2 separate regions of the Homo sapiens genome follow, and region 1 is linked to region 2. The links are contacts of gene promoters, found by promoter capture Hi-C in human tissues and cell types (Jung and others, 2019). All regions are on one chromosome and are shown on one strand. The core of a region is centred on a gene start or on the middle of the fragment in contact, and the rest is flanking DNA. Distances in the headings are between cores, read along the strand shown. Region 1 holds the start of FES (FES proto-oncogene, tyrosine kinase). Region 2 has its middle 41 kb from the start of NGRN.

Region 1 (4,240 bases), core at 440-2,939, 580 kb before region 2:
GGGGCCGCTGTGGGTCCATGGCAAGGCTGGGCTCTGCACTTGAGGAAGGGGTGTGGTGCAGGGAGGGTGACCAGCACACTGAATGGGGGCACTAGGCTCCCAGATAAATAGTTCCAAATCACACAGCCTCTAGACTGAGGAGCTGGGTGGGATTCAAACCTAGGCAGGCTGACTTCACGGCCCGAATCCTCGACCTTCGGGGGGCCATGCTGCTGCCCAGTCTCTGGGGCCCTGAGAGGAGGCTGCCTAGGTCGAAGGCAAACAGACTGACCCTCATTCCTCTCCCTGACTCTCAGAACCCAGAGCCAGATGGCACAGTGTGGAGGCGAGTACCGATTCTGAGCTTCTCCCAGGCACGTGACCGGTCACTCATCCTTACACTCCCAGCACTTTGCCCAGGCACAGAAAAAGCACAGAGAGGCCTTGCTGCAAGCCAGCTCAACGTAGGGGAAGGAAGAGAGGAAGCTGCATCAAGGTTAGAGCAAGCCAGGCCTGCGGTCAGGGACTTACACTTCCCCAGTGAATCCAGGGCCTCTTGTGCAAAACAACCCCTTCGAGGCTCAAAATTTAGACAGAAATGACCGAAGCCCCAGTGCTGCCCGCTCACCTTGGTGAGCTCCTGCTGCAGCTGCTGCCACTGCTCGCTGTAGGTCTTGCGAAGCTGCTGCCGTTCCCGGATGAGCAGGCTCAGCTTGCTCAGGGGCCCTGAGTTCAGATCCTCTGCGTGCTGCCGCAGCAAGCGGCTCAGGCCCTCAGTTTGGCTGGTGATCTCAGCCCAGGACTATACAGCACAGATGGGGGAGGCAGGGAGGGGGGCACAATGGCTCCCAAGCATTGGCCTGCCAGATCTCCAGCCACTGCCCCAGAGGGCCCCCAGGAGAGGAAGGAGAAGGCAGATACAGCCAGCACCCACCAGAGTCCCATAGAGACCCACCTGACTGATGGGGCTGTCAGGGCTGATGGCCCGGCTCTGGCCCCCACTGTCCTGCAGGGACATGTGGTGAAGCAGTCCTGCATACTCCCTGTCACTCTTGACCCGCTGGGCCATCCACTTTCTCATGCCCTCCAGTAGACGAAGCTCGGCCTCCTGCATTTGCTGCAGGACCCCGTGGCCCTGGGGGCTGCACAGCTCGGAAGAGAAGCCCATAGTGCTGTTCTGGGGACAGAAAAGGGGCCATCCCTGGAGGCAAGGCAGCAGCTGGAGACGGAGGCATGGGACGAGGAGACTGGGGACTGTAGGGTCAGGATGGACTGCAGACGGGGAGGAGGTGGGGTCCTGCCTCGCTCACACGCAGCCATGGGTACCCAGCAGCAGCCTGGCCTGGGGACTGGCCCTCATTGCTTCCTTAGCGTCAGGGTCTCCTCCGCACGTTCGGGAACAGGAGCCAACCTGGAGCCTCCCTCCCCAGGCCCTTCCACCCACCACCCCTTACAGGGACACCCTTGCCCAGGTCCTCGACAGGCCAAGCCTGCCCCAGCTGAAGCCTCAGGCGCCCACAGCCTGAGCCCTGCCCCTGCGGCCATCCCCGCCCTTCCGCGGCCCCTACCCCCACCTGGGTGGGTCTCTGGCCCTCGGAACGCCTGCTCTGCCCCTGCCTGCCGCGCCCCCAGCTCCCACCGCTCCTCCAGGCCCCGGGGCTAGAGGTACCCGCACGGGCAGCTGCTCCTGGGACGGCCTCGGACCGACTCAGGCCCGGTGCGGACCCCGGCCAGTTCCTGATTCCGCGCTTCCTCCTCCCGCGGTTTCAGTTGGCCCAGGCCCCGGGGCGGGCCTGTGGAGGGGAAGGGGCGGGCGGGACCGGCCCGACCGCCCCGACGCCTGCCAGCCCCCCTGCTCCGCGCTGGGCCGCAGCCTCTAGCCGGCCGCACGGCCACGGAAACGGAAGGGAGGAGGGGGCCGGGAAAGAATGGCCCAGCCAAGAGCCGCCCGCGCCCCGCAGGCCCCAGGGCCCGGCAGCGCCCCGGGAACACCGGGAAGGGGCGCAAGGTGGGGGTCAGGAGGGGGAGCCCAGGGCGAGGCCCCAGGCAGATGCTGGGCCCAGGGAAGCCCAGGGTGTCCGCGGGTACTGAGGGGAGGCGCGCAGTCCTAGCACCAGGCCAGGGCCACCGCAGAAGAGAAAGAGGGAACCCTGGTCCCAGCCCTCCCCACCTCACGGAATTCCCTAAGGAGAGGCTCAGGCGCCAGCTTCCATTTGAATAAAATTTCCAAGTAAATATCCCGAACAGAGACTGCTTCTCGGATACAGATCCTAGTGGTTTTGTCCCCATCCTCCTACCCCCAGGCAGGGGCTTCCTGTCCCAAGGGAGACCTGGGGAAATCAAGGGGCAGGGGTTGGGGAGCGGACAGGCGTGGAGTTTTCCATTTGGGACTCAGGCTCCCCACAAGAAGTCATCTTGATTCAGTCAGGCCTCCCTCCACCTTAGGCCTCAGCCCTATAGCCTGTGGCGACCAGATCACTTCAGCCCAGGAAGACACAATAGGCCCAGTTCTTCACACTGCTGGAAACCAGGACTTTGGGAGTTTAGTGCTCAGCTCCTGAGGACCAGGGGTCACCAGCCCCACCCCAGGGGCACCAGCTCCTCCACTAGGGGCTGGCGCATCCTCCCGCCCCTTGGAGGACTTTGGCCTTCTGACTTGGGCCCACATCCAGGCAGGCAGGCCACTGTGTAGGCCTAACTGGCCCCCTATCCTCAGCTGCGATGCAGGAGCAACGGTACCACACTGGAGACTGGGCCTGGTTTGCATAGTCTGCACGTTTAATCACTTTAAAACCTCTAACATTATCTCATGTCCATTAAATAGAACCAGCAATGCTGGGCCTGTTTAAATTACAAGAAAAAAATCACTGTGCACCAACCCAGCATCTTACAAAACCAGCCGGGCTGGCCACGAGGGCAGGGGGATGGGAGAGGAGGGGGCACCCCTGGGCAGATGGCTGGGTACCAGGAATGGCTAGGGTAGAAAAGAAAAGGGGACTCCCAGATGGGAGGGGACTGATTGTCCTAATGGGAGGGGTGCAAAAGGCACGTCAGAAGAGGAGGTTTGAGGGGGGCATGACAGGTCAGTGCTTTCTCCACCAGGGCACAGTGTTGGGGGGGCTCAGTGCCACCACCTGCCCACCTCTGGCACTTGGAGAGCCAGTGACCTATGAACCCCCGGCATGGCGAGCCCCACTTGAAACACAGATGTCAGCCTGCCCCTCCCACTGGGACCCCCTTTCCTTGAGCCCGCCTGGCTGGCCCGCCTCTTCAGGACTTGGGGCTCAACTATTCCTCACTCCTCAGCAACATGCTGCAGCCCCCACACCTCAGGGCCAGGGCAGCCAGGGAGGAGCAGGGCGGACGGTGGGTGTGAGAACGTGGGTAGTCCAGCTGCTACCCCCATTAAAAATACAAAAACAAATCATCAGCATCTAAAGTGAAATAATCACAAAGTGAAAATATATCCTCAAACAGCCCCTGAGATCCCCACAGGGGAAAGCAGCATCGGGTGGGAGGCCAGAGAGGCCGGCTGGGCCAGCGCCCCTCCCCACCACCCACCCAGGGGCTCCAGGTCTGTGAGTGCCAACAGCCCAGGCAGCCCGGGCTCAGAAAACAGGGACTTGGGCCCTGACGGGAGAGGCGGGTGCAAGAGAGGGGAGGGTGGTCAGGACACCAGCACAGGGTTCAGCCAGAGCTTCGGCCTTGGCTGCGCCAGCCTGGTGGCCAGTGGTGGTGGAGGCACGGAGCACAGGGGTGGGTCATGGGACACAGGCCACAGGCCACATGCCACGTGCACACCTGGAGGCACCTGCCTTGCCTTGGTCCCTTCCTATGATGGCTGCTGCCGCCAAGACTCACCAGAGCTGGGGGACAGGGTGGAGGGTGCAGAAGCCCTTGGAGAGGTGGCCTCCTCCCTCAGATATCTCCTAGGCCAGCCCCCGACTGCCTGGATGGGACCATTATTGCTTTAGAGGGACAGGGAAGGGCAAGAGCTGCGGCCTGGGTCAGGAATCCCAACAAGCAAGGGCTGCCCCTCTTCACTCCGCAGGAACTCTGGCTGGGGCCGGGGCCGGGGCAAGCTGCCCTAAAGGTTTCACTCCTTTCTCCACATGGAAGGGGTGCTGAGGGTGGGGTACGGCCCTCCCCACGCCCCAGCTGGTCCTGGGCCCACCTCAGGTGGCCAGGTGGGCCCGAGGGTAGGATGGGAAGCAGTCTCCACCCCTCTTGCCTCCCAGCTGGGGTCCAAACCCAGTCCCAA
Region 2 (3,910 bases), core at 1,310-3,809:
CACCCACTTTTGTCAACAAGCTGAGAGCTGGTATCTCGGATACGGGTCATGTCATCCAGTGGAGGTGTGGACAACCAGAATGCCTCCTGATTAACCTATGATGACAATAACTGTGACACAGCCTGGACCACTGGAGCCAACCTGACCAGCCCATGTGAACTCATAACCCAGTTAGAATTTTGCCTGGTGAATGTTGATGTAGAAAGGGGGATGGGAGGTGACTATAAAGGTTTAATGTTATCTAGTAAGAATGGCTTGAAGTGAGGCTTACCAATCTTTACCTTTTACCTACATAGTTTCTTGATGAGAAGGAGACCAGACCCAGGGAACTTTCTGGAGATGAGTGTGGTAGGCTGTGCCCCCCAAGCTCCAGCGCTCAGAGCTAGAGACTTCAACTTGGGGTTGAGCCAAAGTACTGGCCTTTGATACCTCACCTAGACTGAAGAGAGGGCAGGGCCAACGTGACTTGCCTGCCTGGATGCACTGTGAGAAGCTGGAGCAGAAGGAAAGCAAAAGGAAGCCAGCTGAGGAGCTGGGGTGCAAGGGCCCTGAGACTGGGCAGGCCAATCAAAGAAGGCAAAAAAGTGTGCCATGCACAAGCAGTGCCCCAACTCCATAATCAACCCCTTCTGACATGTGAGGCCACATGGGTGATATGCTGTCTTGAGTCAGATTAGCTACTCTTATCCTGGGGAGAGAAGAATGAAAGGAGGGAAAGCGAGAGAGTACGTGTCCATCCAAGTGTTCCCTAAAATGGTCTGCAAGTCAGATGGGGAGAAGTTCCCTCATCTATGAGCCTGAGATGGGAATATGGGAAAAAGAATAACAGCGTCTACAAAAACGGCAGGCACTGCTCTTGGCCAGGATACTGGATATCTTTGACGAAGATGCATTTTTTTCTTCTGAGCTGTTCTTAGATGGACCCTGTCAGCCTGCTCTGGAACCCCAAAAAGGCAGGAGTAGAATTTGTTCATGCCCTTAGCACAGTGCTTAGCAGACTCTCAATATATATACAGAATACATGCATTTACTTCTCTCTCCTTTTTCTTCTTTCATGGAATCAAACTCTACCTTAAATTGACTATTATTCCTTTAGCTGTGTTATTATCCTCAATCAGATTGTTCAACATGTTCAACAAGTCAGAATGTTCAACATGATGACTTTGCACATCTCTGCTCCATACAATATGTATTGATCTTGTTGTTTAGCTCTTGGAGGACCATCTCATTTTCCCTCTTATACCAAGTTCTTTAGAAGTGCATTTCCCTGTAGCTGTCAAGAGCTTACTCTCTCATTCCCATTCCACAGTCATTTATGAGCGGAGCCAACGTTAAGATCCAAGGTCACGGGAAGAAAATGTTATTGGATAGACTGAACAACCCCTGTTAGACGTTAGCGTTTCACAGAACTCATCAGAGAAACCCAAGTTTTCACCAAACACTGCATTGATTTCCGCCTCCCACAGCAATTGGTTATTTTGCCCAAGAGAGGAAACTGTTTCCATTTCACACATGGTAAAGGACACCTCCTGATAATTTCCCTTTGGGGCCAGGAATTTAATCTTACTACTGGGTTAATGCTTTTACTTGGGTGGCTTTTTAACCTCAATAAGTGAGCTGTACTTCCTCCCACCATCACTTTCATAATTGCTGTGAAAAGAGGCCCTCGTGTGGGTTGCTGCAGAGACAGCCTGGGGAAAGCCGGTGAAGTTAAATGCGCTGCTTGAAAGCAGAGACACCCACTTCTAGCCCCTCCAGCCCGAGCAAGCCGTTAGATTTGGACCCTAGCAGGGACAAGGTCAATTTCTCTTTGCTTTTTTTCTTCCATTTCCTGTTCTTCCACTTCTTCTATTGCCTTCTCACAGCTATTCCAGGCTCTCTCCTTCTTTTTCTCTTCTCTTTTCGTGTTTTCAAACAACAGGATAACTTTCAAAGCCTTTCCTTTCTTTTTTCACTCTACCCACAACCCCTTGGCTGTTCAAATGCCTAAGTTCACCCTTCAGCTAAAGAGACAGTGCAACTTTTATAGTCAAGAATGTAGGCCAAGAAGCCAGACTTCCTGGGGCTGAATCCAATTTGCCAGGGAGACTTATGGAATCTCTCAGGTCCTCGGTTTCTGCATCTGTCAAGTGGGAATGATACTAATAGTTCTTATCCCAGAAGATTATTATGTGAGTCAAATCAGTTCATATGTGTAAAGTGCTTAGAAAGGTTACGTAACAGACTTAAGAGCATTTGCTGAGAAACAACCACCACAACAACACATCACAAGTGGGTAAGGATGAACAGAAAGTGCAAACGGCCTTAGAACAGAGATCATATTCCACCCTTTGTCCCTCTGATTGAGGAGAGGGGATTGCCTGCATCTGTATTTCTTCCCCTAGCATATCCATATATTCTAGAACTCTGGATATGTTCTTTGTGTAAGGTGAACTTAGTTCAGAAATATTTTCTCAGCTTTTACTCTCTTTTTACAGAGTAAGACTTGATCTCTTTTGTGAAGAGCTATTTCTGGCTAGCTTCAAACTACCATTTCAATTAGTGGCCATTGTTTATGCCCATGATGTATAAGCTGAACTGCCCCTGCATTCTTTATTATTTTTTTTGAGATGGAGTCTTGCTCTGTCGCCCAGGCTGAAGTGCAGTGGCACGATCTCGGCTCACTGCAGCCTCCGCCTCCTGGGTTCAAGAGATTCTCCTGCCTCAGCCTACCGAGTAGTTGGGATTATAGGCACCCGACACCAGGCCCAGCTAATTTTTTTTGTATTTTTAGTAGAGACGGGGCTTTGCGACGTTGGCCAGGCTGGTCTCAAACTCACGACCTCATGATCCACCAGCCTTGGCCTCCCAAAGTGCTGGGATTATAGGCGTGAGCCATCGCTCCTGGCCTGCCCCTGCATTCTATAATCCAGTCCCAAGGAAGGGGAGAAAAATGCCAGGAGAGCGTGGGGAAGAAAAAAGCAATCATCGCCCACCCACCAGAAAATCTCCCTGCTCTCATATTTACTCTTTAATGACAGAACTGGATTTATGTACACACTTAGCTAATGACATGTTTACATGTCTTGTCTCCTCTTGATCCTAAGGTAGTGTCTATTCCCTGCCTATGTCTTCTTGGTGCTCAGAACAGTGCTACATTTACCTATGGGTAGAAAATACAATTTGCTGACAAACTATAAACCAATAGAAATAGACCATGTATGAGACTAGTATTAAAGGTTTTAAAAATAGTCTGTTTTAAAAATACAGTCTGTCAAATTTATAAGCTTTAAATGACCAAAATTAAAGGAAAGAGTTAAAGAAAATGAGAGTGGTTTCTATTTTTTGAATCACATTTTCTGCTTTCATTGCCATATGCCTATAAAAGGAATTAGATATATAGTGGGTGTGAAGCACTTATGTAAGTTGTGTATATATATATATATGGTAGATTTATGTGTGTGAGGTATGTGTGTGTGTATTATGTGTGTGAATTAAGCTGTCAAGTCAGCACACACAAGGAGAAAATCATGTACAGAAGTGCTTCAGAAAATTGCGTATTATCACTTGAGGCTCCATACTTAGAAGCCCAAACACTAAGATTTAGCTTCTTTTGTTTCTATTTACATTCTCTCTGTCATCTCATTCTCTTTGGACCCCTGGAGGCTAGAGTCTAGTTTGAAAGGGAGGATACATGCAACAGGGTAAAAAATGTTTTCTTTACTTGTTTGTGCACTAAGATTTATGAAAATTAAATTCTTTAAAAATGCAACTTCACAGTGTGTGTGTATGTCTGTGGTGCGTGTGTATATATATACATTTGTTTGTTTGTTTGTTTGTTTTGTTTTGTTTTGGGATGAGTTTGGCTCTGTTGCCCAGGATGGGGTGCCTTGGTATGATCTCGGCTCATTGCAACCTCTGTCTCCGGGGT

What was found. The method cuts DNA at HindIII sites, captures the fragments that hold promoters and counts their contacts. A contact is called where the count stands out against the background at its distance.
Region 1: the fragment with the promoter of FES here is called in contact with a fragment that was not itself captured in region 2 in 1 of the 25 tissues and cell types used here (lymphoblastoid cells).

The regions. Positions count from the first base shown.
Region 1 is chr15:90,881,953-90,886,192 of GRCh38, reverse strand. It overlaps FES (FES proto-oncogene, tyrosine kinase), which reads right to left and starts at 1,689. Exons shown (of 19, transcript NM_002005.4): 1 at 1,649-1,689; 2 at 935-1,156; 3 at 608-781. The coding sequence starts at 1,147. It overlaps FURIN (furin, paired basic amino acid cleaving enzyme), which reads right to left. Exons shown (of 16, transcript NM_002569.4): 16 at 2,736-4,240. RefSeq lists enhancers at 544-973, 2,511-2,640 and a silencer at 1,604-2,113. The HindIII fragment of the contact is 25,407 bases long and covers 1-4,240 here.
Region 2 is chr15:90,304,450-90,308,359 of GRCh38, reverse strand. No RefSeq gene overlaps it. Among named protein-coding and RNA genes, the nearest start is that of NGRN, 41 kb to the right of the region's middle. RefSeq lists an enhancer at 1,766-1,815. The HindIII fragment of the contact is 4,498 bases long and covers 311-3,910 here.